7 separate regions of the Homo sapiens genome follow, and regions 2, 3, 4, 5, 6 and 7 are each linked to region 1. The links are contacts of gene promoters, found by promoter capture Hi-C in blood cells and fetal thymus (Javierre and others, 2016). All regions are on one chromosome and are shown on one strand. The core of a region is centred on a gene start or on the middle of the fragment in contact, and the rest is flanking DNA. Distances in the headings are between cores, read along the strand shown. Region 1 holds the start of LCA5L (lebercilin LCA5 like). Region 2 holds the start of ERG (ETS transcription factor ERG). Region 3 has its middle 49 kb from the start of LINC00114. Region 4 overlaps LINC00114 (long intergenic non-protein coding RNA 114). Region 5 overlaps LINC00114 (long intergenic non-protein coding RNA 114). Region 6 has its middle 5.0 kb from the start of LINC00114. Region 7 overlaps ETS2 (ETS proto-oncogene 2, transcription factor).

Region 1 (3,740 bases), core at 639-3,138:
TGGGCATGGTGGCGTACACCTGTAATCCCAGCTACTCAGGCCGAGGCAGGAGAATTGCTTGAGCCCAGAGATGGAGGTTGCAGTGAGCCGAGATCTTGCCACTGCACTCCAGCCTGGCCGACAGAGTAAGGCTCTGTCTTAAAAAAAAAAAAAACAACAAAAAAAGAGAGATTGGCTAGGGGCCTTAGCTCCTTGAGGGCAGGGACCTGTCACATTGATCGCGGTATCAGCACCCAGGTACTTACTATTCAAAATGATCAGCATACGGATGATCATTTGTCTGCATCTCAGTTTGCCTCTTTTGGTGCTTCTCTAAAAAATAAAAAAGGAAGAGCTTAAACTCCTACATGATTCCTGTCTTTGCGCTGGGAAGAAGGCTCTGGGTTCTTTTGTTCTTCAGGACAGTCCCTTGTAAAGCTCTTGCCATAGTTCTGTTCCAGGGGCACTGTCATATTTATACCTAACAAAGCTAAGGGGTGTCTTTACATTTTTAGCTTGTTAGCAGGATGCTTATATGGCCTTGCTGACCCGGTTTAAAAGTTGCAATTTGCAAAATACATACTGAAAATACTGCACTTTTACCTATGGAAGTTGTAATTTATATAAGGAAATTGTAATTTATATAATCCTTTAAAAAACTTACTCATACGAAATAACAGAGAACGGGGAAATACCATTAAGACTGTCATGCTCAAGTGGGGGAGGGGCAGACTCAGGGAAACCAATTAGGAAGCAAGTAAAATAATCCACGCACCAGATGATGGGGGCCTGGACCAAGGTGGTGACAGTGGCGGTTGAGAGAAATGGTAGAATTGTGAATCTATTCTGGGTGCATTTTGAAGGCAGTGCTGACAGACTGAAGGTGAGGAAGAGAAAAACAGGACTCAAACAGGATGCAAGACTCGGGCAACTGGAGGATGGAATTTCCAGCAACTATGATGGATTAAGATTGTGGGAGGACAGGCTTGGCTTGGGGAATTATTGAGCGCTATCTTGGACGAGCTGTGTTTGAGATGCCGTAGACATCCAAGTAGGGATGTGGCAGGCAGCTAAATGCAGGGATCTGGTGTTCAGGGGAGGGGCGAGGGCTGGGAATGCACACTTGGGGCTCACTGGAATTCAGATAGGCTCTGAGTACAGGCGACTGGATGAGTTCATCTAGGGATTGAGTGTAGACAGAAAAAAGGCTCAAGCTCACATTCAGCCGTGAAAACTGGTCTCTGAAAAAAGTTAACCGTTGGCTTAAGTGTGGCAACGAAACGTTAACACGCTGAGGGGAGGGTGTGGATAAAGAGCCCCGAGGCTGGGTGAGTGGGGGACAAACACAGACAGAGAAGACATTTCAAAAGATTTAGATTCCTACGAGATAGGGAGATGCCAGCGCTAAGGTTAGAAAGAAAAACTAATCCAAAGCAAAACAGCAAGTAAGCAGAGGCAAAATCGGAGGTCAGATAGAAGATTCAGATAGAAAAACCCCAAAGTTCCCTCGGTGGGGCGGCGGTGAGATCGGCCTCCGCCCCCTCGCCAGACCCAGGCGCGGCCCCGGGAGCGCTAGGTCACCTCGGCCCAGGCCGTCCCCCTGCCCAGCGGGCCTGAGAGTACGTGTGTCGCCGGGGCGCCCGGTCACTGCCGAGCCGGGGTAGCTGTTCCTTGGCAAACTGTGCCGCGAGGAGGAAACGGCGGGGCGCCAGCGAGGCAGGCAGGGGCGAGGACTGAGTGACCGGCGATACTGGAAGCCCAGAAAGAGCGTAGCAGGAGGGTCCGGAAGGGCCCAGAGCTGGGGCTGTAACAGGGTAACCGGCTGAGGGGGACGACGGCAGCAGCGGGGCCGTTACCTGCTCCGCGCTGTTCCCACGACTGCGCCAACGCCGCAGCGCCGGCGCGTCCCCATGGAAACCCGCGCGCGGGGCCTCCTGGGAAGCGCCGGCCTGCGGGGGCTGGGCGCGCGCATGCGCACTCGGGCAGCAGGAGCCGCGGCGGGGAGGGGCGTCTTGGGCCTGGAGGTCAGTGTGGCCTCGCGTTTGTCTTCGGTGACGGGAAGTGAGTTTCTTGTGTAGACGTCTGTAAACGATCCTCCTGCCGTCCCTGTTCGGCGCCCGGGACCCTGCCTTCCCGCGTGGCCGCACCGAGACGAGGGAGCCTGTCACGCGCTCTGGCGCTCTCCTGACCTCTTAAGGCTCTGTCAGTCTTAGGTAACTTGAGTCAGTAGGTGGGTGTAGACGCCTGGTCAATTCCTGGGAAGCACAGTTCCCCTATTAACCCCTTGTCATAAAGACGATTTTTTTTTTTTTTTTGTAAAACAAAATCTGATGACAAAACAATGCATGTTTGGCATAGAGAATTTAGAAATGTACAGGCAAGTCCAAAGCAAAAGTCAAAATCACCTAGATGATGGAGTTATAGATGTTTTTTAATGACAGCATAGGAATTTGGCATAATTTAGGAAGACTTACATTGTTTCCTTTTATTTATTTACTTTTTTTCCTGCATCAAAGCCATGTTGAATATCCTTGCAGATGAATCTTTGAGGTCACCCCTGACTGTTTCCTTAGGATAAATTCCTACAAGCGAGGTTGCAGGGCCAAAGCATATGCTCACTTTGAGGCTTTCTAAAGGTAGAGGGAAACTGCCTTCCAGTAAGTGTCCCGATACTTGGCCCGCATTGGAAATTCTCTTTTTTCTTAAAATTTTTTTGCCCATTTTATTGTCAAAAATTGGCATCTTTAATTGTATTCACTTCCTTTTTAGTAGGAAGAATAGACTTTTTCCCATATCTTGAGTGCCATTTGTCCTTATTGTGTGATTTGCATTTTCCTGTCTTTTGTCCATTTTAAAACTTGACATTCATCTTTGTAAAAATGGGTTTTGTAAGGACTTTTGATGCTTGAAAACTTGGCTTGTGATATACGTTGCAAATATTTCCTCAATTTGTCAGTTACCTTTAATTTTGTTTACAGTGTATTTTGGTATTTGTGTAGAGTCAAGCTTATTACATTTCTCTATAGTTTCTGCATTTGGTTTTTATATAAAAGGAGAAACGGGTGTTTTTTTTCAAATTGACTTTAATCCTACTTTGGTAGAAGTGGGTTAGGACAAGCTTTCTCTCCATATCACCATTTCTTCCTCTAGAAATGCATGACCCACCCTGAGTTTTGGTGGGCCATGCATTTCTAGAACTCCTTAGGTAGGGAATTATCCGTATAAGATGGGTGCCGGTTGTTTTTGCTGGTGGTGGTGGGCGGGGCAACATCTCCAGGTAGGCAAACATTAGACAAATGTCACTCTAGACTTGACATTATGGAAAGATGGGCTGATGCTTGGTGGGTGGTGGTGGCCCCATGACAGTAACGAGAGCGGAGTTTTGCCATTGCGGGAGCATCCAACCCTGGAGCTCATGACTGGAGGAATTGAAAGGTAGAGTTTCCTGAGAATGGTTTCCTCCTCTTTTCTACCAGCTTTTCCCAGTCTGTAGACATGATAAGTCACTGCAAATCTGCCCTTGAATCTTTCTTTGCTTTCGCTTTTGCTTTTTTTTTTTTTTTTTTTTGAGACGTATCACTCTATCGCTCAGGCTGGAATGCAGTGGCGCCATCCCAGCTCACCACAACCTCCGCTTCCTGGGTTCAGGTGATTCTCCTGCATCAGCCTCCTGAGTAGCTGGGATTACAGGTGTGAGTCACAACACCCGGCTAATTCTTTTTGTATTTTTAGTAGAGATGGGGTTTTGCGATGTTGGCTAG
Region 2 (3,740 bases), core at 340-2,839, 950 kb before region 1:
ATTAATCTCTACATGCTATCTACTAAAAACTTAGGCAAGGAAATGCATCAGACCAAACACCCCACAGCACAGAGAACCGACCGGCCATTGCTTTCCAATCTCCGCAAACCTAACCATTGCTGGAAGAAATCTTACTCACAGTGCACAGACAGTAGGTATTTTATTGAAGATAAACATATAGTGGAACAAACCAAATTACCCCCATTTGAGTTACGTGAGCACTCAGTTCTCAGCGTGGATGTCCCACAAATCAAGTCAACATTTGCGTCCCATTACCAGCAGCCACTTGCCGAGTATCTCTTCGCTTCCACTGGGACTGCCTGGCATCCCTGATGCTAAGGAGCCACTGAAGAGCCTCCAAATGTCTGACATTCACAAACGCATCTTTTGCTTTGACCCGACCCTTCAACCTCTCCGAGTCTGCTGCCTTTTCTCAGACACACATCCAGGCACCGTTAGGGATAGTTAGAGAATCTGAAAATTCAGAAGCGCTCCGAAAAGCCTTTCCAAAAGTAATCCACAGCACTCAACAGTGAATTTAGAAACCCCAATTTTTTTCTGAGTTTGAAGTTTTTAAGCCTTGCGGATGGTTGGAGTAGGAAAAAGGAAATTTACTAGGCAGTGCAAAGGAAATCTTGTTGTCCTCTATTGTGGCAGTGGGGGTGTTGCCCAACCCTAACTTATCTGCCTTGATAAAGGAAACCAAAGAAAAGAGTAACAAGAACAAGATTTTGTCAAATTAAAAGGAACCCTTTCCTTACCTTAATAGTGCTGGCCATAATGCGATCAAGTTTATTGATCGTTAATAAATGTTAATAATAATTATTGCTTCTCTCTGACCAGAAAGTAGTTTTGATGAGGTTGTTTAGAGCGGATGAGATTGTGCTAAGTCTGGGAAATGAAGTCAGCCAATGGCAGGAAGAGGTTTCTATTGGTCCTGGCTGTCCAGCCCAAAGAAACAGGATATTTGGGAGTGGAGAGATAAGAGACCCTGAAAACAATGTTGTTTTTCTTGATGATATGCAGCCAGGAGATTTTTTTTTTTTAATTAAAAAAAGAAAAGGCATCAATTGGGATGGGGACTGCCACAGCAGGTGTGACCGGTGTGCCGCCGTGTGACACACTGCACTGAGACCAAGGCAGGATGCAGATGTGATGGGACTCCGCATGGCTTCACACGGGCTGCAAGCACCTTGGAGCCAAGGCGTTGAGGGCACCCCACTGCCCTGGGTGTCAGCCCTTCGCAGCCCAATTCTTCGCAGAATTACTAGGACAGAGGACTTGAGCTCCTTTCTCCTAAAAGGAAACTTTGCAGGTGGAGTTTATTTCATGTTAATAGATGGCCATGTTCAGTAACAGCCATTGCCTGGCTGATTTTTAACAACCTATATTTATTCAACATTTCATATAAGTGTTCCAGAACAGTTTCATTTTCTCCTTCCAAATACCTGCACTTTTTATTTGCTCTACAACAAAGTTGTTGAAAACGCAAGGACTCTAGGCTTACAGTAAACACAAAAAATAAAGAGGAAAAATAAACCTTCCTAAGTCTTGTTTTCAAGTATTTATTAAAACCCAAATAACTGAAGTGACTACAAATGTCCCGGAATATCAGTGAGCTGGTCTCACTCTGACAGACATCCATGTTGCAGACAACAGATCCTCATAGAACTTTTGGCTACCCAGAGATGCCATGTGAGGGCCCCATTACATGTCTAAAATCCAAGCTATAAGTTCAGGGTCACAGGTCTGTTTTCTCCTCGAAGGAAGTACAGCGAATGCAGGCCTGAACATTCCTTAGAGGGTTTCAGGACTTTAATTACTCATTTTCAGGAAATTGCTTGGAAGAAACATTTTGCTTTGAATCTAGCTACAGGAACGCAGGACCCATAAAGAGGTGTGGTCTCAATAGGCGACCCCAAGAACACAATAGACTAAATCCTGAGTCATCTGACAATTCCTGGTTGCAGAGCTGGACGTTCAGTAAATGGATTTCACTCAGACTTTAGGCCGGCATGTGTCAGAGTTCTGTCCACCAGCCCAGGTCATTCTGGCTTTTATTATATACCTCTGATTTATCACCTCATGTTAGGACAAAAGAAGGAGGAGAAGGAGAAAGATAAGGGGGGAAAGGGAGAGGAAGGAGAGGAGGAGGAGGAGGGAGGGAAGAGGGCGAGAAAAAATGGAGAAGGAGAAAGGAAGGACAGAAGAGAGAGAGAAAGGAAGGAGGATGGGAGGAAGGAGGGAGGAAGGAAGGAGAAAGGGAGGGAGGGAGGGAAAGAAAGAAGGAAAAGAAAAGAAAGAGAGTATATTGTAAGAAAATCATTCTGTGGAAATCAGAACCTAAGTTCTCAGCACCTACATTATGAGGGGGTGTTGATTTCCGCTCTTTTCATCTCTGAACAATGAATAAGATGGCAGGCTGATTAAAATTCTGTTTCCCCGAAAATTTCAAAGTCCTGAGCTGTTTTATCTGGGCAGCTTCCACTAGAATTCTGGAGTGCGGAGGAGAAAAGCTCTCTCAGCTTCCCTGAGTGTCCTTGCTTTTTGTTCTCTCCTAAGAAGCATCAATGTAAAATGTTAACTGTGGCCTCCACAACACATGGCACCTGATTATGCCTTTACCAAACACCAGCTTTAAATAAGATGAACGCTTTGCTAATGAAATAGCCACGGAAGAAAATCCTGTGTGGTCCCGCCTCACCCACGCCTCGTGGTTGCTAATCCAGCCCTCAGTTGTTCCCTGCAGCAGGAAAGATCAGCATTTCTACTGGGACCTAATGCTTCAGTGATGATTTGGCCTTAACTCCCTGGTTCTTGCCTAATGCAAATCAAACTGTGAAGAGTGGGATTTCTTACCTCTCTATTTTGAAATAATTTCCAACTTACAGAAAAGCCACAAGATAATACACCAAACTCCTAATACCCTTTGCCTGGTTAACTCTGATTGTCTACTGGTGCCAATGTACATCATTTTCTCTGCTTTCTCTCACACATGCTCTCTCTCTCTCAATCTCTGTCTCTCTCTCCCATATTTATTTATGTATAACATACATGCATGCATATATCCATCATTTTCTAACTAATAAAAATATTGTTTTATAAGAGACAAATTTATTTATTGGATACTAAAAAAGAGAAAAACAGATGCTATTATTTGATCAATATTCGATCCATAAGTTTTACTGCGTCTAATTTTGGAAATGCATACAAACATAAAAAGTGATCTAATAAAAAGTTAATTTGGGGATACTGAGTGGTAAATTCTGTTCCAAAATTTTACAAAGGAAACTCCTCCTCATTTCTAATGACAAAATGTTTGATTGATTCCTGTTGTCTTCAAAGAGAATAATTCTTGATGTTTCAAATGGCATCATAGCATCCAAGCCTGGTAATCTCTGACTATTTAATGTAAAGTGTTTTAAAAAAATCTTTGGCTCTTGATAGGACAAGGCACATCTTTTTTTTTTTTTTTTTTTTTTTTGGGACGGAATCTTGCTGTCGCCCAGGCTGGAGTGCAGTGGCGCGATCTCGGCTCACTGCAAGCTCCGCCTCCCAGCTTCACGCCATTCTCCTGCCTCAGCCTCCCGAGTAGCTGGGACTGCAGGCGCCCGCCACCACACCTGGCTAATTTTTTTTGTATTTTTAGTAGAGACGGGGTTTCACCATATTAGCCAGGATGGTCTCGATCTCCTGACTTCATGATCCACCCGCCTCAGCCTCCCAAAGTGCTGGGATTA
Region 3 (3,740 bases), core at 612-3,111, 720 kb before region 1:
TGATTAGATAAACTGTGGGAAGCAGAGAGCAGTAGCCTGGGGAAAGGGGCTTGGGTAGACAAGCTTTGATGCGTGAGTTGTCTGCAGAAACACCAGAAGCATGAAAGAGTTTGGCATTGAGCTGCTGAGCTCAGGAGGTAGCTGCAGACACAGGGCTCCTGGCTGAGCCCTGGAGGTGGTGGGAACATGGGGCTGTGGCAGCCTCAGGGCCTGTGTCAGCCAGGTGCCCCTTGAGCAGGGGAGCAGAGTCACTGTGAGTGTTATGAGAAAAAAACTTTTATTGTAGAAATTAGACCTTGTATAGTTGTGGAGGGAGCTGAAGAAGCCAAAGTCTCAGGGGCAGGGGGTGCGAGGAGAGGATCCTTGGTGGCGATACCAGCCAGTCACTTTGAGAAGCCAAACACACCTTGCTGCCAAATGAGGCCACAGAGGTAGAGGGCAGGAAGGGGGTTGCCGCTGACACTGTGTCACCTCTTAGGGTCTACAGCCAAACACCTAGGAAGACCAGCAGTCAGCATCACGGGCTCGGCAGAAGAGAGGACAGAGGACGCCCGCTGAAAACCCCGAGCGACCGCTACATCTACCCACCACCACATCTGGCTGATCAAAAGGCCTCCAGACAGCAACGGCCACGGCTTCACGTCTGCTTTTAAAATCTCACTCAAATTTCCCTTTGGGCTAGCTCTAACTCAAAACCACACGGGGACCTTTCAGCTGTAGATTCTGAAGAAGTTTGTTATGGAAACATGGCCTCATTAGAATAATCGGGGAGTGGATAGGTTAGATTATTGATTGGAAATATTCATTCTTCACCCTCCCATCCTCCCATGAAGGATAGAGTGTATTTTCCTATTCCTTGACTTTAAGTTTGTCCATGTGCCTTGCCTCAGCCAGTGGAATGAGGCGATTGAGGATGTGCCAATTCTAAGCCTAGGATTAAGAGGCTTCATGGGTTTCCACTCAAATTATTTTGCTCTGCCATGGACATGAGACTAGACTACCAGGTTGGACTCTTGCTTCTAACAGGAGGATAAGAGACATAGGCAGAGTTGAACCAGTCCAGCTGAACCCACTATACATCAGCCAAATGCTGGCTGACCTCCAGATGTGTGAGCAAACCTACCAAAATCAGCAGACCCGGATTAATCAACCCAACCTAGATTAGCTGACCCCCTGCTGACTCCCAGATGCATGAATTACATAAATGCCTACTGTTGTATGCCACTGAGCTTGTGCGGTTGTGTCTTACACAGCATTACTATGGCCATAAGAAACCAGAACAGAAATTGGTACCAGAAGTGGAGTGCTACTCTAACAAAAACCCAAGATATGTTGAATTGGTTTGGGGACCAGTGGAAGGAAGTAGAGAAACCTAAAGAGGCTGAGAAGATGATGAGAGAAAATAACTTGAGGATGCTGAACAGTAATGATTCATGTTAAGGAGTCTGAAATAGAAAATGTACCCAATTAACTTATGAATCTAGGCATGGACATCTCCAGGCAGAATACTGAAAGTGTGGGTTGGTTGCTTTTGACTTCAAAAAGGAGATGAGCTCAGAAAAGAACTGGCCAGTTTGTAAGCAGAATTTGGAGGGAATATGAAGAATTTGGAACGTGCTGAGTTAGAAAATAAAACTGTTTCTCATTTCCAGCCTTTCCAGTCAGCAAAATATTTTCAAATTAGGATACAGCCTGGGAGCAATAATCAACCCCAGGGTGCTTCCAGCAAGGCCTGACCTCAGAGTAAAGACCAAATCAAACACACAGTTGCAAGATACATTGTTAAGAACTTCATAAGAATTAAGGTGGAGTCTAGTAATCCTTTCAATTGTTCAAAAAGATTTTTAGAAAACTTAAGGGTGGGATGTGAGAGCAGTCTGATACACCACCTATAATACCAGTAAGCACATCGAGAAAGGAATATTTTTAAATGAATTACGGATATGGTTTTTGGTACATAGACTAGACGGAAACCAAATATATATAAAATACACAAATTTTTCTGAGAGAGCCAGAAACTGTTCCAAATATAAAAGGATCCCTGGGCCCCTGTATTTGAGTTCTCCAGAACTCTGAATAGTTCGATAGATGGATAGATAGATAGATAGATAGATAGATAGATAGATAGATAGATAGACAGACAGACAGACAGACAGACAGACAGCTAGCTAGCTATGGGGGATGGAGAAGGATTGATTTTAAGGAATTGGATCATATAATTGTAGAAGTTGGCAAGTCCAAAATCTGAGTTCTCCAGAACTCTGAAGAGTTCAGATAGATAGATAGATAGATAGATAGATAGATAGACAGATAGATAGATAGATGATAGAGAGAGAGAGAGATGATAGATATGGAGGGATGGAGAAGGATTGATTTTAAGGAATTTTAAGGAATTGGATCATATAATTGTGGAAGCTGGCAAGTCCAAAATCTGTAGGGAAGGTCAGCAGGCTTGTGACCCAGGGAAGAGTCAGTGTTGCAGCTCTAGTCCAAAGGCAATTTACAGACAGAATTTTCTCTTCTCCAGAGGAAATAGTCTTTTATCAGCCTTCAGCTGATTGGATGAGGCCCACCCACATTATAGAGGGTCATCTGCATTACTCAAAATCTACTGGTTTAAATATCATTCCCGTCCAAAAATTGACCAAATATCTGGATTCCATGGTCTAGCTAACTTAACACACAAAAGTAACCATCACAGTCCCAACGTTCTTCAAAATGAAAGCCAACTGGGAAAGTTTCTGGGCCACCAATAGAGCACATTTTCTGAAATCTTTTTCAGAAGTGCCCCAGGAGATGATACAAAAGGGAGAGGAACTCAGAGAACAGAGCCAAGACTTATGCCAAACAACAGAATGAGGAACTAGACTCAGTGACCTGAACCTGGGGCTAATCAGAGAACACTCAACGTCATCAATGCAGGGGAGCCTGGCAACATTTGCCAAGTGAGATTTCAAAATTGCTATGGACCAGTGACTAATATGTGCCTCCCATTCTTCTCCCTTTTACCTAGGTGTGCTTACTATAAGTATCCTGTCCTCATTTTACTATATTATTCTGAATGTGTGTGTACAGGAGAGAAATCAATGTGTTCTTTTACTTCGAAAGGAGTGAAGAGGAGTTACATCTTGCCCTGATGTAGACCATGAGATCTTGAACTTTGAGTCTAACACCGTGATTGGATGAAACTTTTGGAATCTTCCTATTGAGGTTAACGTATTTTGATTAATATTATTAATAAGAGGGTGATTGTATCAACTTATTATTCAGACATTCATTTTCTCCTCCCCCAATACACACACACACACACACACAAAAGCAGAGCATGTATTACTGCCTCTAGACTTTAGGAATGCCATATGACTTGCTTTGGTCAACAGAGCAATGTGGAATTGTTGGTGTATCAGGCCTGAGCCTAGCCCTTTTGAGGTCTCATGTGTTTCCACTTGCTTTCTTCATGGGAAAACATGTCCAGGTGAGCTTGCTGGTCACATAAGGAAAGCAATAGTCACAAGGCAGTGGAGATCAGCCCAGTGTAGATCAGCTGACCCGCCAATTCATAGATGCATGAGCAAGTCCAGGCAAGATTGGAAAAGCCAAGCCAAATAAGTTGAGCCTAGATTAGATCATCTATCCCCAGACACATGATGCAAAATAAATAAGCTTTTTGTTGTATAAAGTTGAGTTTTTTCTGGGTTAGTCCATTTGTGTTGCTATAAAGGAAACCTTAGGCTGGGTAA
Region 4 (3,740 bases), core at 871-3,370, 700 kb before region 1:
ATATATATAAAGTCTTTATATATCTGGTTTCCTCTCAATCTCTCTCTTTCTTTCCTTCTTTCTTTCTTTTCTTCTTTCCCATTTTCCTTCCTTCTCTCCTTCCTTGCTCCAGATTTAACATTAAAACTCACATGATGCCACAAGTTTGAGCACAACATGTCTAAGAACAAGTTCTTAGGAGATGCGCCTGGGCCCCAAGAAGCACAATGATGATGTGCTCCTGGGCCTGGAATCTCAAGGCTCAAGGAGCTCCATGGTCCTGACCCAGGTGATGAGGAGGAAAGCTCTCCACTCCATCAGGCCTCTAATTCCACACCTGGAAAAAAGAAAGACGAATTGGACCAGAGTCTCCCCAAGTCTCCTCTCGTTCTTAACTTGTAGTTCTAGAATAATGGAATGTCGGGAGCCCACGAAAGCTGCCTTCCTCCAACAAATGTGCACTGGGGTAGACCCCTCCTTCTTTCCACCCTGCTGGGTTGTACTCAGAAGCATCTCTGCTCTTGGCTCTCCTTAACCATGCTATGGCCAACCACACCCTCCCTGAAGGATGGTGGTATGAGTCGCTCACCATCAACAGCTCCCACCTTCCTCTTGGGTTCTTCAGCAGCTTCTTAAAGTCCCTGGCAAGAGGAGAGAGAACCTAATACTTATCCATCAATGTAATGGGTATATAGGAATGAGATGTAATCACCTTTATACATTCATAATTTAATCCTCCCAGCAGCCCAATGAAAGCCAATCAACCATTCATGGATCCAACAAATATTTCAGAGCCTATTTCTTGTGTGGTTGGCAGTGGGGCCTGCGTCTCCAATGGGGACACAGTAGAGCTGAACTGCCATCCAGGAGGTGACTCTCAATCAGGAAACAGGAAACAAGAGAGCACACAAATAAAAAGATAGCAGGAAGGGAGGTGCCCTTAAATTAAGTGAAGGGGCACCTTAAAGGGAAGGGGCATTAAGTAAGAGATCTGAGGGGTTGAGGAAACCAACATTGCAGGTGAGGGTACAGGCCAAGGACTCAGGGAGCCTGGTGATCTCAGGCTCAAAACCTTAGTGTGGCTGGAACTAAGGGGGAAGAAAAACATTACAACATCCCCAAGGTAGGCAGGGCCTCAGATGCTGGGCAGCAAATGTGGGTTTTATCCTGAGTACAAAGAGCAGTCATCTGCCAAGGAGCCCAGTGCTGCTTCCACTGCAAATATCTAGGTTCCAAGAGCCCCTCAACCCTTCTCCTCCCTGGACAAAGATCCACCCTCAAGCTACTTCTCATATCATTCGCTTGCATGTCGCTGACTCTCAAGCATGCTCCTGGTCATATCTGGGACTTGTTCTTCAAGTCTTATCTTTTATTGTAGCACAAAACCTTTTGGCCTCCGTTATGCAAATTCGAGATACCAGTCATTTGAGGAAGAAGTAGAGAAGGGAGGGAAAACAGGGTCATCTTCCCCAGCTGCCCTAACTCGTTTCTGCAAAAGACTAATGTGTTTCCAAACTCTCCAAGCACAAGAGCTCCCAAGCAATTACTTTAGGGAAGCCAATGATAAATTTACATTGAATTGCTGGGTTTATGAAACGATAGTGTTTCCACAAGTGTAGACTGCAGAAGTTTTGAGAGGTATCAAAACTTATTACATAAAGGTTTGGCAATATGGAGTTTATAGAAATTAAGTAGGTCTCTTGACTATAGGACTTCTCAGACCTTAATCGGCAACTGCAGGGCAGGAGTCTCTGGATCATCATGGCAGCTATGTTGGTCCCATGTCCCTGGACTCTGCTGGTCTGCTTTCTCGTCTCTATCTAGAGTACTATATAAGTACTAGGAAGGCAGAGATTGTATCTTAAATATTGCATGTCTTGAATGGTGTCTCAAGCATAGTGAGATCTCAATTATTAACAAATACTTATTAATAAATAAATGAAGGAGTCACCAGCAGGTGATTATTTTCCAAACTTCTCATATTTTTTTCATGGAACACATCTTTGGACTCTTGCTAAAGAACAGACCCCTTAGGAATGCTTCTAAGGAATGCTGCTTCAGGAAAAAATGACAACAAAACTATGATGTGTACAGGTTCTTTACCTAATATGGAAGAACCTAGAATTCATTATTATATTTGGTACTTTTTTCTTGTAGGGAACTTGTGTCCTCTAAAATTTATTTAAACTAAAAATGTCATCGTCATCATCAGTCAAGATAGCCATCTTGCTTTGTTTCTCTGTCTCTCTCTCTCTCATTCTCTCTCTCTGTCTCTCTCTCTCTCTCTCATTCTCTCTCTATCTCTCTCATTCTCTCTCTCTCTGTCTCTCTCTCTCACTCTCTCTCTGTCTCTCTCATTCTCTCTCTCTGTCTCTCTTTCTCATTCTCTCTCTCTCATTCTCTCTCTCTCTCATTCTCTCTCTCATTCTCTCTCTCTCTCATTCTCTCTCTCTCTTTCTCTCTCTCTCTCTCTCTGTCTCTCTCTGTCTCTCTCTCTGTCTCTCTCTGTCTCTGTCTCTCTCTCTGTCTCTCTGTCTCTCTCTGTCTCTGTCTCTCTCTCTGTCTGTCTCTGTCTCTCTCTCTGTCTGTCTCTGTCTCTCTCTCTCATTCTCTCATTCTCTGTCTCTTCCACACACACTCACCTACACAATGATGCATGGCCATAATTATTAAAAATTATTTTCAGATTAGAAAATTCAGAGAAGAAAACAACTATTGGGAATCCCACCAGTTAAAATGTTGGCATTTTTCTTTCTCCTGGTCTTCCTTCTTTGCTTTTTGTTCTGAAATCATGCTTTTTTTTTTTTTCTTGAGACGGAGTCTCACTGTGTCTCCCAGGCTGGAGTGCAGTGGCGCGATGTCGGCTCACCGCAACCTCTGCCTCCTGGGTTCAAGTGATTCTCCTGCCTCAGCCTCCTGAGTAGCTGGGATCACAGGTGCGTGCTACCACACCTGGCTAATTTTTGTGTTTTCGGTAGAGACGGGGTTTCACCATACTGGCTGGGCTGGTCTTGAACTCCTGACATCGTGATCCATCCTCCTCGTCCTCCCAAAGTGCTGAGATGACAGGCATGAGCCACCACGCCCAGCCCCAAATCACGCTTTTCATGCACACACTGGACATGCCATGGGAGGGATCTACCAGATACCTTCCTCCCTTCTCTCAGAAGCCCGGTGTGCTCTGCATGCCCGCAGCCCCATTCTTGGGCCAATCCAAAGCGGCTCCTTTTGCATGAGGAACTGACCAGAGGCACGCTGGAGCCACTGAGCCAAGCTGGCTTGAGCTTCCTGCATACCTGGGCATCTCAAAGGCTGGAAGCTGCTCTTGAGAGTGAATTTCCTATAAGCTAAAACCCTCCCACTGCAAAAAGATCCGTCTTTTCCCCACTACGGTAAAAAAAAACGTAATTCCTTTTCCTTCTTTCTTATTCTGCGTATAGTATAATGTCTTTAAAAGCTGTTGCAAAAGTAACTGCTCGATATGTCACTCCAGGACACTAATTGTTTAGTGGGAACACACATTTCCTGAATTCATTGCAGGGTTATAGGTCAGTTGATTTATTATTATTTGTGCAAAAGTAAATGGCTTTTGAAGTGAAGCTGCTTCCTGGCAACAGAGGACGATCCCAGCCCTCGGAGTGTGCGTCTGCAGCTTACGACCGGACGCATCCCGGGACAGGGCTGTGGTCCTTCACAGCACCTGTCTGGGTCTGGCCCTCTCACATTGCAAACTTCGCAAAGACCTGAACAACTGAGGCAGC
Region 5 (3,740 bases), core at 760-3,259, 680 kb before region 1:
ATGTATAATGTAACAGAACATGGGTTGTGCCCTGAAGAAAAATAAAGACTGACCAGGAAAGGGGATGGGAGTGGGGAGAAAAACCATATTAAACTGAATTATACCTTCCACCTTACCTTGTATTATGATCAAAAGAAATCCCTCTGCTGTCCTTTCCTCCTGACACTCTTCCCACACACACACATGCACACACACACGCACATCTGTAAACCCCTGACAACAGTGGTGACGTCTATCTCACCTTTGTGCACCCCCAAAGCTGAACACAGCTATGCATGACTGACACAATTTTGTTAAACCAAAGAAAATCTTTTCATGATGTCTCCATTAATTTCATGTGGCCAACCAGCCATTCCTGGAAGTTTCTTGAACTCTCTGGAGATCCCTTCTGCCTTTAGGCATCTTCTGTCTACTCAGCGAGTAGTTCCTGGGGCTTTCCTAATGGCATTTCTGCTTATCCGATATCTGCTGGATGTCGTTCAGAAAAATGACATTGGAGGCTGAGGCCTCAAACTTTAGCTCCATATTCTTGGTCAGGTTTCAGATTTTCACTTAAACACAGCCCTGTCTGCGATGCCAACAGACTTTAGCTCAATTTATTATCAGAGGGCGATCTGGCACTCCCATACAGCTCCGCAAATGCCTCTGACTATCTAATAACTCATCATTAAACACCACATTCCCTGAGAGGCTGTGGAGACCAGGCAGGGAGGGCCTCTCCCTTCTGAAAAAAGGAGCCCCTTCCAGGGCTCACAACAAAATGTCAAGTTTGGCAAAAGATAAAAATAGAAGTCTTTGTTTCACACTTGCAAAAAGGCTCAAACTTTCACGTGTGCTTCTGTTTATATTAAATAAAAAGCCCATTTTTCTTGGGATAAAAGCATCTTAAGAAGAGTTGTAGGGAGAAGAGACTAGGTCCTTTCTTAACCGGAATTCAACTGATTAGACCCTGGCCAGACTCTCCAGTCAGACCCAGAAAGAGAAAACAGTGCCAATCCGAATGATTCAGCTCAATCCGTTCAAAACAACAAATCATGAAATGGCATCATGGACAGGCATGTTACGATAAGACTCTGCTAACGTGGCTTTTGCTGCAAAGTGGGAAATGGTTCTGGGAACTTACAGCTTTAATAAGATCAAACAATGCATCAAATGGAGGTCTGAGTTGGAGATCTGGGCTTCGACCTGCAGAAATAAGAATTGAGGCCTGTTGGGTGCTTCGCTGCTGGCAGTGCTCTCTCACGTGCCCTTTCCAGCTGGCTCTCACCTGATTCTCAGACACCTCTGAGAGCTAGGTGGTGTTCTCGTGTACATGTTAGAGATGAGGAAACCCAATCTCTGACAGCTGTCTATCCACCTGTTTGGAAGGGGCTGAACTGTGTTCCCCCCAAGCTCATCTGTTGAAGCTTTAACCCCCAGTACTTCAAAGCATGTCTTTATTCAGAGATAGTCTTTCAAGAGATAATTAAGATGCAGTGAAGTCATTAGCGTGGGCCCTAATCCGATCTGACTGGTGTCCTAACAGGAAGAGGAGATTAGAACACAGACATGACCATGTAAGGACACAGGGAGAAGGCGGCCGTCTGTAAGCCAAGGAGGGAGGCTCAGAAGGAACGAACCCTGCTCACACCTGGATCCCAGACTTCTAGCTTCCAGGACGGAGAAAATAAATGTTGTTGAAGCCGCCTACCCTATGGTACTTTATTATGGAAGCCCTAGCACACTAATACATTAAGGTAAGTTCTCTGAGGGCAGAATGGGGCTTTTGCTATTTCGATGAAAGTTCTTCGGATTCTGCAAAGCTGACCTCATATTCTGTGATGATTTTGGTAGAAGGCACACAGGCCACCTGCTCACTCCCTGCTCCTCTCATTCCTCCTCACTTTCCCTCCTATTTTCATCATCTTCCCTCTCCCTTTCTCCTTCTTTCACTCCAGGGGGATATGTTTGCCAACCATCTGCAAAGTGCCTACTGTGTTTCACGTAAACGCTTTTAATTTACGTAACTCATGCTATTTATCTCGTCATGATTTGACTCTTTTCCTTTTGGATAGTTTTCAAGATCAATCCTTGTTGCAAGATGAATATTTAACCTGTTACTTTTTTTTTTGGAGACAAGGTCTCGCTCTGTCGCTCAGGCAGGATTGCAGTGGCATGAACACAGCTCACTGCAGCCTCAAACTCCTGGGCTCAGGTGATCCTCCCACCTCAGCCTCGCGAGTAGCTGGGACTACAGGCATGCACCACCTCACACAGCTAATTTTATTTATTTTTCTAATAGAGATGGGGTCTTGCTATGTTGCCCAGGCTGGTCTTGAACTCCTGGCCTCAAGCAATTCTCCCACCTCAGTCTCCCAAAGAACTGGGATTACAGGTGTGGGCCACCACGCCTGGCCTAACCTGTAACTTCTAATTGACACCTCAACATTTCCGAAAATGCCTTTATTCTGCCTGTGCACTGGATTGATAGTTTCTATAGGTGTAGAAGCCCAGGTCGAAAACCACCTTCCTGCAGAAAGCCCCATCCTCTTGTCATTCCCAGAGCGGCTGCAGGGAAAGCTACAGCCATTCTGAGTCCTGAGTCTTCATGTGTTGCCTTTTTTCTTCTCCCTGGAAGCTTGTAAAATCTTCTTCCTGTCCTCACTGCTCTGAAATTGCACAGCAACGAGGCTTCGTGTAGGTCTATTTTTATCTCTTGTACTAGGCCCTTTAGACCTGCAAGCTGGTGTTATTCATTTCTGGAAAAGTTTCTTGAATTGTATTTTAAAGACTTACCAGCTTCTCTGTTCTCTCCTCCTGGAATTCATCTGGAAGCTGCATTTCCTGGTCTGGGCCTCCAATTTCATACATTCTCTCCCTTTTCTTCTCTCTTTTCACTTTGCTCTATTTTCTAATACAATTTTCCAGCCATGCCTTCTAATCCTTGTACTGGGTCTTTCATTTTGGCTATCATGTGACTTTCCCCAAGCTTGCCCAGTGCTTGTTATTTTCCAAATGTTGCTTTTTTATGGTCTCTCACTTTTTTTTTTTTTCTTTTGAGACAGAGTCTTGCTCTGTCGCCCAGGCTGGAGTGCAGTGGCGCGATCTCGCTCACTGCGAGCTCCGCCTCCCGGGTTCACGCCATTCTCCTGCCTCAGCCTCCTGAGTAGCTGGGACTACAGGCGCCCACCACCACGCCCGGCTAATTTTTTGTATTTTTAGTAGAGACGGGTTTCACCGTGTTAGCTAGGATGGTCTCGATCTCCTGTATGGTCTCTCATTCTTGATGCATAGAAGAAAACTCATCTCATCTCTCTAAAGGTGTTAACAGTAGGTGTAGTCTTGGTTTCCTCCAGGTTTCTTTTGACTTTTATTTTTACTGAGATACAGTTCACATAAGATGAAATTTGGCCTTCTTAAGGATATTCACACAGCTGTGCAACCACCACTATCATTTATCCCAGCCTATTTTTATCACCTTAATAAGAAGCTCCATACCTGTTAATATTCATCCCCCATCTCCACCTCTCCCCAGCCCCTGGGAAGCACTAATCCATTTTTCCATGTCTATAGATTTGTCTATTCTGGAAATTTCATATAAATGACATAATACAACTTCTGGTCTTTTTTTTTTTTTTTAAGATGGAATGTTGCTCTTGTTGCCCAGACTGGAGTACAGTGGCGTGGTCTCAGCTCACTGCAGCCTCCACCTCCTGGGTTCAAGCAATTCTCCTGCCTCAGCCTCCTGAGTAGCTGGGATT
Region 6 (3,740 bases), core at 324-2,823, 670 kb before region 1:
GCCCTCCAAGGGTATCCAAGTCCTAATCCCTGAAACCTGTAAATATGTGGCCTTACATGGTCAAAGGGACTTTGCAGATGTGATTAAATGCAGGACCTCGAGGTGGGGAGATGATCCTAGATTATTCAGATGTTCCCAAAATGTAATCACAAGCATCTTTAGAAGGGAGAGACAAGTCTCAGACTCAAAGAGAGAGATGAGGTAATGAAAGCAGAGGTTGGGGAGAGAGAGTTCAAGATGCTATACTGCTTGAAGATGAAGGGGGGCCCTGAGCCAAAGGATGCAGGTACCTGTAGAAGCTGGGAAGGGCAAAGAAATGAATTCTCTGCTGGAGCCTCCAGAAGGCATGCAGCCTTGCAGATACCTTGCTTTTAGGAATTCTGACCTCTAAAATTGTAAGATCATATATTTGTGTTGTTTTAAACCACTATGCTTGTTGTCATTTGTTACCATGGCCAGAAGAAATGAATGCAGACAATTTCAAATTTGAAGCTGATGAGACTTTAACCTGCCAAAAAATCAGAGTCTTGGACTCAGAAGGTCTTTCAACAGAGTCATGAAATCAGTCATTCTTCATGTGTGTGTAGTGTGAGCTCTCCTTAAGTGCCACAAAACACATCCTTGCCCATATTGGTCCCCAAGAACCCCAGCGTGGATGACAGTGCATCACACAGATGAAACTGGTAGAGTATTTTCTGGATGAATGAGCAAATAAGCAGTAAATGCTGCAATCTCTCTCTGGTTGAAGTCCTCAATTCCTCTTGCCTGAACCATTTCAATATCCACCTCATAAGCCTCCAGGCTCCAATCTTGTCTCCATTCCAACCTGCTGCCAGGGTCTTCCTCTCATGCAAGTGGTTATGTACATTTCATCCAAATAAAATTCAAATTCCTTAAAATAGCATATAGCTCTTTTTGGCTTCCCTGGGCAACATCAGAAGAAGAATTGTCTTGGATCACATGTAAAATATATTAACACTAACAACGGCTGATGAGCTAAAAAAAAAATAGTCACACAAAAAAATATCATAATATCTTAAAAAAGTATTGGGCCACATGTGGTCTGTGTGCTGTGGGTTGGACAAGCTTGGTCGAAAGCCTTCTATGGCCTCAGTCTATCACTCGAGCAGAAACCACCAACACCCACATGCTTTCCTGTCTGCGTTGGCAGAACTTCACTATTAAGTTGCCCTCTCTAATATGACTTTACTATTCTAAGAAATCGTTGCCCAGGAAATAAAAGTTACTAATTGTATTGTTTCAGGAACTTCCCAGAAAAACTAATTTAAGTGATTATCAAACTACTCAACTCTTCAATAACTAGTATCAAGGATTATTTACTCTCCAATACACTTCTGAGAACCCTGCCTTAAAACCCTCACCTTGCTGTCTTCACCAATCCTGAACCATTATATCATGATCCTTAATCCTATTCAAACTTCTTTCCCCATTGAAAGACCTGCCAAACCCCCTAAACCTTACAAATAGCCCAACTTTGTCATACTCACAGAAAATACTATGCAGACTTTGTTGAGATAGTTGTGTTGCTTACCATGGGAAGCAGTAAACTCAGCTTTGCCTGACCAGCAGGTTGTTGGGGTGATGTTTTTGGGGAGTCAGTACTGGACACCTAAGTAAACTTGTTACTTCATGCTTCCCTCTTCTAGAAGGCAGAATAATGGCTGTCCAAAGATGTCCACATCTTAATCTTAGGAACCTGTAAATATATTTCCTTACATAGCAAGGGGGAATTAAGGTAGCAGATAGATTTAATGTTGCTAATCGGCTGACTTTGAAATGATGAGATCATTGATACAGCTTGAATATATGTCCCTGTCAAATCTCATGTTGAATTGTAATCCCCAGTGTTGGAAATGGGGCCTGGTGGGAGGTGATTGGGTCATGGGGGCGGATCCTTCATGGCTTGGTGCTGTTGTGATAATGAGTGAATTCTCAGGAGATCTGGTTTTTAAGTGTGTGGCACCTTCCCCCTACTTGCTCTCTCTTGCCCTCATTCTCACCATATGAGATGCCTGCTCCATCTTCTTCCACCCTGATTGGAAGCTTCCTGAGGCCTCCCCAGAAGCCAACCAGATACAGTCACTATGCTTCCTACATAGCCTGCAGAACCGTGAGCCAAATAAACCTCTTTTCTTTATAAATTACCCAGGCTTAGGTATTTCTTTAGAGCAATGCAAGAATGGCCTAATACAATTATCCTAGATTCTCCAGGTGGGAACCCATGTAAACACAAGGATCTTTACATGTGGAAGGGGGAAACTGAAAGAGTCAGTGTCAAATCGATGAGATGCAGGAAAGACTCAACCAACCGTTGCTGGCATTGAAGATGGAGGATGGGGCCACAAGCCAAGGAATGGGCAGCCTTAGAAGCTGAAAAAGGCAAGAAATGCATTTCTACCTGGAGCCTCCAGAAAGGAATGCAACCCTGCCAACACCTAGATTTTAGCCTGGCAAGATCTGTATTAGACCTCTGACCTCCAGAACTGTAAGATAATCTTGTGTTGTTTTAACCCAGCAAATGTCTGTTCATTTGTTTTGGCAGCAGTAGAAAACCAGCATATCTCTCCTTGCTGATGCTCCTTTCTCCATCTGAAATCTCAATCTGATCTCACTCTTCTGCCTGTTGAAATCCTGCCTACCCTTTCATTTCAATGGCAGATCCACCTCCTCCAAGATACACTTCCCTGAACACCCCTTTTCTGAATTCTATCAGCATCTGGTTTGTTCTCCTTCATTATTTATTATTTTTATTTTTTTCAGATGGAGTTTTGCTCTTGTTGCCCAGGCTGGAGTGCAATGGTGCGATATCGGCTCACTGCAATGTCTGCCTCCCAGGTTCAAGCGATTCTCCTGCCTCAGCCTCTCGAGTAGCTGGGATTACAGGCATGCACTACCATGCCCGGCTAATTTTGTATTTTTTTAGTAGAGACAGGGTTTCTCCATTTTGGTCAGGATAGACTCAAGCTCCTGACCCCAGGTGATCTGCCCACCTTGGCCTCCCAAAGTGCTGGGATTATAGGCGTGAGCCACCATGCCCAGCCTGTTCTCCTTTATTTTATACGATCACATTTACTAGGGTATGTAGCGTATATCTTCTATGTCTTATAAATAACTTTTGCACAGCTGAATGGTAAAGATTTGTCTATTCTTTCAATGTAACCATACCATTATCCCTTTAGCTAGCTAAATAACATCCATGGTGGGTACAGAAGTATCCTGACAGAAGTCATGTATTTGAGGAATGAAATGTAAGTTCTTCATTAATTAAGGCTGGGAGAATCTTCCTCTTTTGGAAACTAATATATCAACTTGAAAGTCAATTCTAATAAGAAGGTTGAAAGAATGATATGGAAAGGAATTTGTGAATAATAGAAAAGAAATGAAAAGAACACTTTCTGTAAGGCTAGCTTCTCCACTGGGCATCAGGGCTGTTGCTTTGAGCCTATAGCTTTTCTAGCGCCTATGAAAATATTTGAAAGCCTAGACAAGAAAGAAACATCAGGAAGTTAAAATAGGTTCATCAAATGTCTACAAAATGTAACCTTATCTCAACTCATTAACTGAATTTTGCATACATACAAATTCCATTACATTTGCAAAAAATGTGTAAGTTTGTTTTTCTCACTTCATCAGAATTCAGAATTCTCAAGCATGCACCAGGAACGAAAATAACTACTTTTCGCCAACTAATTTTGAAAGCAATGTTTTCTCTTAATTGT
Region 7 (3,740 bases), core at 832-3,331, 630 kb before region 1:
GCTAACCCAAGGTCTCTGAAAATGAGTTTTAGTTACTCTATTATCTAAGTATCTTTCTTACTGATATGTAACTTACCTGGCTGAACAATTACATTTTAGAGCTCCAAATAAATTTTCAGCCTATTATGTCATTGTCCAATTACAAGCCTCATTGTAATAGCCATGTTAAAAACAATAAAGCCGGTGAAATTGATTTCAGTGTATTTCAAATTAACCTAATATATTCGAAATATTATGTATGTATAAAAATTATTGAGCTTTTTTCTTTTTTCCACTAAGTCTTTGAGAGCTAGTGTGTATGTGTGGATTTGTACTAGCCACTGGTTGAGAGCTCTGTAGCCACACATGGCAAGTGGGTACCATATTGCTTAGCCCAGGCCTAGTAGAAGATTAAGACTCAGTCAGAGGAAGTAAGGCAGATCCGTGCTTGGAATCAGTTCCTCTTGAAGAAGTGCACAGCCAAGCAACACACAAAGCAGAAATATTTTGAGCTCTGTATTCAAAGCAGGAAGATCTGGGACCATGTAAGGGGGTTTGGTCTTCAGTTCTCCCTTTGATCCCTTCCCTGGGTGTGTGCTTTCTTACAGCCTGGAGAGTGGAAGGGAAGAGAGGGGGCTTCCTGGACTCCTTTCCTGTCTCTAGAAATGACCCCTGCAGCTGTCCTGAAGCTCTCAGGTTAAGCTGATTGTGTCCAGAGCAGACAGGAGGCGGCCCACTGCCCCACTGTACCCACCCAAGCACTCACCTAAGCTGGCCATGGAAATGTGAATGAAAAGCCTGACCCAGGCCCTCTTGCCCTGCTAACCCAGCAAGGAGGCTCTGACCAGCCAGCCAGCAAGTGACTTTTTCTGTGACATCTAAGTGGAATTCAGTGAGGAATCAGCATTATTATTCAATCACTGAAACAGCATATCCCATTGTGATACTGAGAAATGCTTTCCTCTTGAGACCTTTGGGAGGACAGCCATTTAAACAAGAATTCCCTGCATTCACTTTTGAATTACCTGTTAGCTGTAGAACTCAGCCAGGATCAAGTCTTGATGCCACCAATGATGAGTTTAGTGTACTTAATCTTTTGCCTCTTTGACTTTTTTTTTTTCTTTTTTAAGATGAATGATTTCGGAATCAAGAATATGGACCAGGTAGCCCCTGTGGCTAACAGTTACAGAGGGACACTCAAGGTGAGTGGGCAAGTCTTAATTTTTTTTTTTAATTGGAAAACTCGATCTCTAGGAGGAAAGAAAAAAAAGGCCTGGGTCCCAGAAAACTGGTTGTAGCCCTAGCTTCTTAATTTATTGGCCATGTGACTATAGACTATTTGCTTACTTGCTCTGGTCCTCAGTTTTCTGGTCTGCAGAATGGGTATCTTGATGTGTGTTGTTCTTCTCCTCCACGATATGAAACCAAAGGCCTTTATAGCTTGTTTTCTGAGGCTCCTTCCAGGTGAAAATCCTATAACTCCCAATAAAACAGCTGGAGAGGCTGTCTCTACTGCCTTTTCTGTCTACCCAGGAGTTTCCTTGGTTGATGGGAAGCTGTTTAAGAACTGAAATGAGAGAGAAGAGGCAGACAGACCCAACCGCTACAGCTCCTATCAGAAAGGGCAGCGCCCGTGGAATTGTAGGTAGCCTGTTACTGGCTCAGAGAACAAGCAGGCCTACTTATGTTAAACCAAAAACCAGATGAAAAATGAAAGCGCCCTCTCTGCTGCATAAACATTTTATGTAGCTTCTATCATCATTCCTTTTGGGAACATTCTTTAGTAGCACAAACTGGTAATCTCCCACTTGTCTTCTCCAAATATGACAGCAAGATTTGATTGTTTTCAGTATTATGTAGTAAACATGTTTCAGAAGCATGATTTTAAAATTGGCCTCCTCAAAGTTTAGCGTCTTGCATAATGATGATGTACGTCTCTGGCATATTACATTTTCCTTTGTATATCATTATTGAGGTTATTTGTCTGATATGACCCAAAGAGGCAAAACTCAGCACAGTCCTTTCTGCAGTATTCTAAAGGTCATCAAACTTCAGCCTAGTGAGTCTGCTTGTTTGATTTGGCCGGACATTTTAAGCATGGCAGAAGTGGTACAAGAAATCATGGTATTAAGTTGAAACCACACCCCTTAGAAAAATCCTTCTATTAATTCAAATAATTTGACGATGCTTATGCGGTTTCTGAAAAGAAGCAGTCGTTGCTGAAATTGATGTGTTGAAATAGGAAGCACAGATTTGTATTGTCTTTTGGCTTCCTGGCTTTAAAAAAAAAAAAAAAGAATTTACGGTTAGGAAAGGCATTTCTTAGTCACCTGGGCAATGCTTGTGGGAACTTTAAAAGTTTATTGGAGGTTTCACCAAAATTAGCTCTGCTCTAAAGTAGTTTGTAAATCCAGATGAGTAATTTGCACTTGCCTGATTGATCGGTTTTCCTCGTAGATCTCAGGCAGTTGGTCATCATTGACTTGGATTTTTTTGGGCTGGGCTCCAGCCTCTGCCTGCCCTCTTTTGTAATGCGTCATTCATTGTTCTGCATTTCTAAAAAGAAAGCGGGTAACCGATTTTATTTGTAAATGTGTTACACATTTTCTTATTGATGACTCAACAGATGGGTCATTGTATTACACATAACATGGGATTTCCAGCTTATGTTGGAAAAATATAGTCTTTCTTCACGTGTTCCTCAACAATTTAGGCGATGATGAATCCAGATATTATCGGTTACTTTCAAATGAGTCTTACATTAAAAGGTATTTCTTTCATAAATGTTATGTAAGATGCTCAGAAATCGAGTTAGTGTAAGGTTTTATCTTTCTGTGTGTCTCTTCTTTTCTGCAGATAGTTTAGTTTAACTTTAAACCTATTTCCTTTGGAAATCTTTCCCCTTAGTAGGTGATTTGGGTTTTTTTTGTTTTGTTTTATTTGTTTTTTCGTTTTTGGTTTTAAGCAACAGGGTCCTTCTCTGTTGCCCAGGCGGGAGTACAGTGGCTTGATCGTAGTTCACCGCAGACTTGAACTCCTGGGCTCAAGTGATCCTCTGGCCTCAACCTCATAAAGCACTGGGGTTACAGGCATAAGCCACCCCGCCTGGCCTGGGGGCGGGGAGGGGGTTCATTTTTAAGACACTTTACTTGTTATAAAATGAAACGTTAAGGAATTTTGTCATGTATTACTATTTTCCAAACCATTGGAATTGATGTGGAAAAGCATCTCTAGTTTCAGTTAAATTGTTTCATGGCAAACATTTCAAAATAAATGCTTCCAAAGATAAAGTAGTGTATTTCATTGTTTGATTTTTCAGTGTTTATCGGGTCATTTGCCTTTTAACTGCATTGTGCTCAGACGGCCTTGTCAAGGGTCATTTTTCTTACACACACAGCCTAGTTGAATTTTTCTCAATGTAACAGGAGGGTCAGGTGTTTGGTAAAGGGGTCTCTGAGGCTCCTCTCGACACCATTGTAAGATTCTGTTATTTTCAGATTTGTGTATTTAATATATTAACTTAAGTGGATTAGGCCACTAAAACAAATTCCCAGTCACTCCGACTCTGTGAGGTTACTTAAATAAATCCACAGTGGCCGGGCACCGTGGCTCACGCCTGTAATCCCAGCACTTTGGGAGGCCAAGGCGGGTGGATTACACGAGGTCAGGAGTTTGAGACCAGCCTGGCCAACATGGTGAAACCCTGTCTGTACTAAAAATGCAAAAATTATCCAGGCGTGGTGGTGGGCGCCTGTAGTCCC

Evidence for each region. The method cuts DNA at HindIII sites, captures the fragments that hold promoters and counts their contacts. A CHiCAGO score of 5 or more calls a contact.
Region 2: a fragment that was not itself captured here is called in contact with the fragment with the promoter of LCA5L in region 1 in 1 of 17 cell types (fetal thymus); the score reaches 5.5 in fetal thymus.
Region 3: a fragment that was not itself captured here is called in contact with the fragment with the promoter of LCA5L in region 1 in 1 of 17 cell types (naive CD4 T cells); the score reaches 5.0 in naive CD4 T cells.
Region 4: a fragment that was not itself captured here is called in contact with the fragment with the promoter of LCA5L in region 1 in 2 of 17 cell types (naive CD4 T cells and total CD8 T cells); the score reaches 7.2 in naive CD4 T cells.
Region 5: a fragment that was not itself captured here is called in contact with the fragment with the promoter of LCA5L in region 1 in 5 of 17 cell types (non-activated CD4 T cells, naive CD4 T cells, total CD8 T cells and 2 more); the score reaches 7.4 in non-activated CD4 T cells.
Region 6: a contact is called between a fragment that was not itself captured here and the fragment with the promoter of LCA5L in region 1, in 2 of 17 cell types (total CD8 T cells and non-activated CD4 T cells). The highest score is 8.1, in total CD8 T cells.
Region 7: a fragment that was not itself captured here is called in contact with the fragment with the promoter of LCA5L in region 1 in 3 of 17 cell types (naive CD8 T cells, total CD8 T cells and activated CD4 T cells); the score reaches 5.9 in naive CD8 T cells.

The regions. Positions count from the first base shown.
Region 1 is chr21:39,443,890-39,447,629 of GRCh38, forward strand. It overlaps LCA5L (lebercilin LCA5 like), which reads right to left and starts at 1,889. Exons shown (of 11, transcript NM_152505.4): 1 at 1,836-1,889; 2 at 246-312. All of the region lies in intron 8 of GET1-SH3BGR (GET1-SH3BGR readthrough), which reads left to right. It overlaps MIR6508 (microRNA 6508), which reads left to right and starts at 3,121; the gene lies at 3,121-3,180. It also overlaps a transcript of SH3BGR not described here. RefSeq lists a silencer at 1,800-2,059. The HindIII fragment of the contact is 3,319 bases long and covers 1-2,983 here.
Region 2 is chr21:38,497,602-38,501,341 of GRCh38, forward strand. It overlaps ERG (ETS transcription factor ERG), which reads right to left and starts at 876. Exons shown (of 10, transcript NM_182918.4): 1 at 762-876. The coding sequence starts at 779. The HindIII fragment of the contact is 7,853 bases long and covers 1-3,740 here.
Region 3 is chr21:38,722,455-38,726,194 of GRCh38, forward strand. No RefSeq gene overlaps it. Among named protein-coding and RNA genes, the nearest start is that of LINC00114, 49 kb to the right of the region's middle. The HindIII fragment of the contact is 3,600 bases long and covers 62-3,661 here.
Region 4 is chr21:38,740,753-38,744,492 of GRCh38, forward strand. LINC00114 (long intergenic non-protein coding RNA 114) reads right to left here. Exons shown (of 7, transcript NR_027065.2): 4 at 569-620; 5 at 132-316. Among named protein-coding and RNA genes, the nearest start is that of LINC00114, 31 kb to the right of the region's middle. The HindIII fragment of the contact is 6,104 bases long and covers 1-3,740 here.
Region 5 is chr21:38,759,080-38,762,819 of GRCh38, forward strand. The region is part of intron 1 of LINC00114 (long intergenic non-protein coding RNA 114); the gene reads right to left. Among named protein-coding and RNA genes, the nearest start is that of LINC00114, 13 kb to the right of the region's middle. The HindIII fragment of the contact is 1,211 bases long and covers 1,405-2,615 here.
Region 6 is chr21:38,776,594-38,780,333 of GRCh38, forward strand. No RefSeq gene overlaps it. Among named protein-coding and RNA genes, the nearest start is that of LINC00114, 5.0 kb to the left of the region's middle. The HindIII fragment of the contact is 978 bases long and covers 1,085-2,062 here.
Region 7 is chr21:38,808,926-38,812,665 of GRCh38, forward strand. It overlaps ETS2 (ETS proto-oncogene 2, transcription factor), which reads left to right. Exons shown (of 10, transcript NM_005239.6): 2 at 1,110-1,181. The coding sequence starts at 1,110. Among named protein-coding and RNA genes, the nearest start is that of ETS2, 4.9 kb to the left of the region's middle. RefSeq lists an enhancer at 1,988-3,187. The HindIII fragment of the contact is 6,932 bases long and covers 1-3,740 here.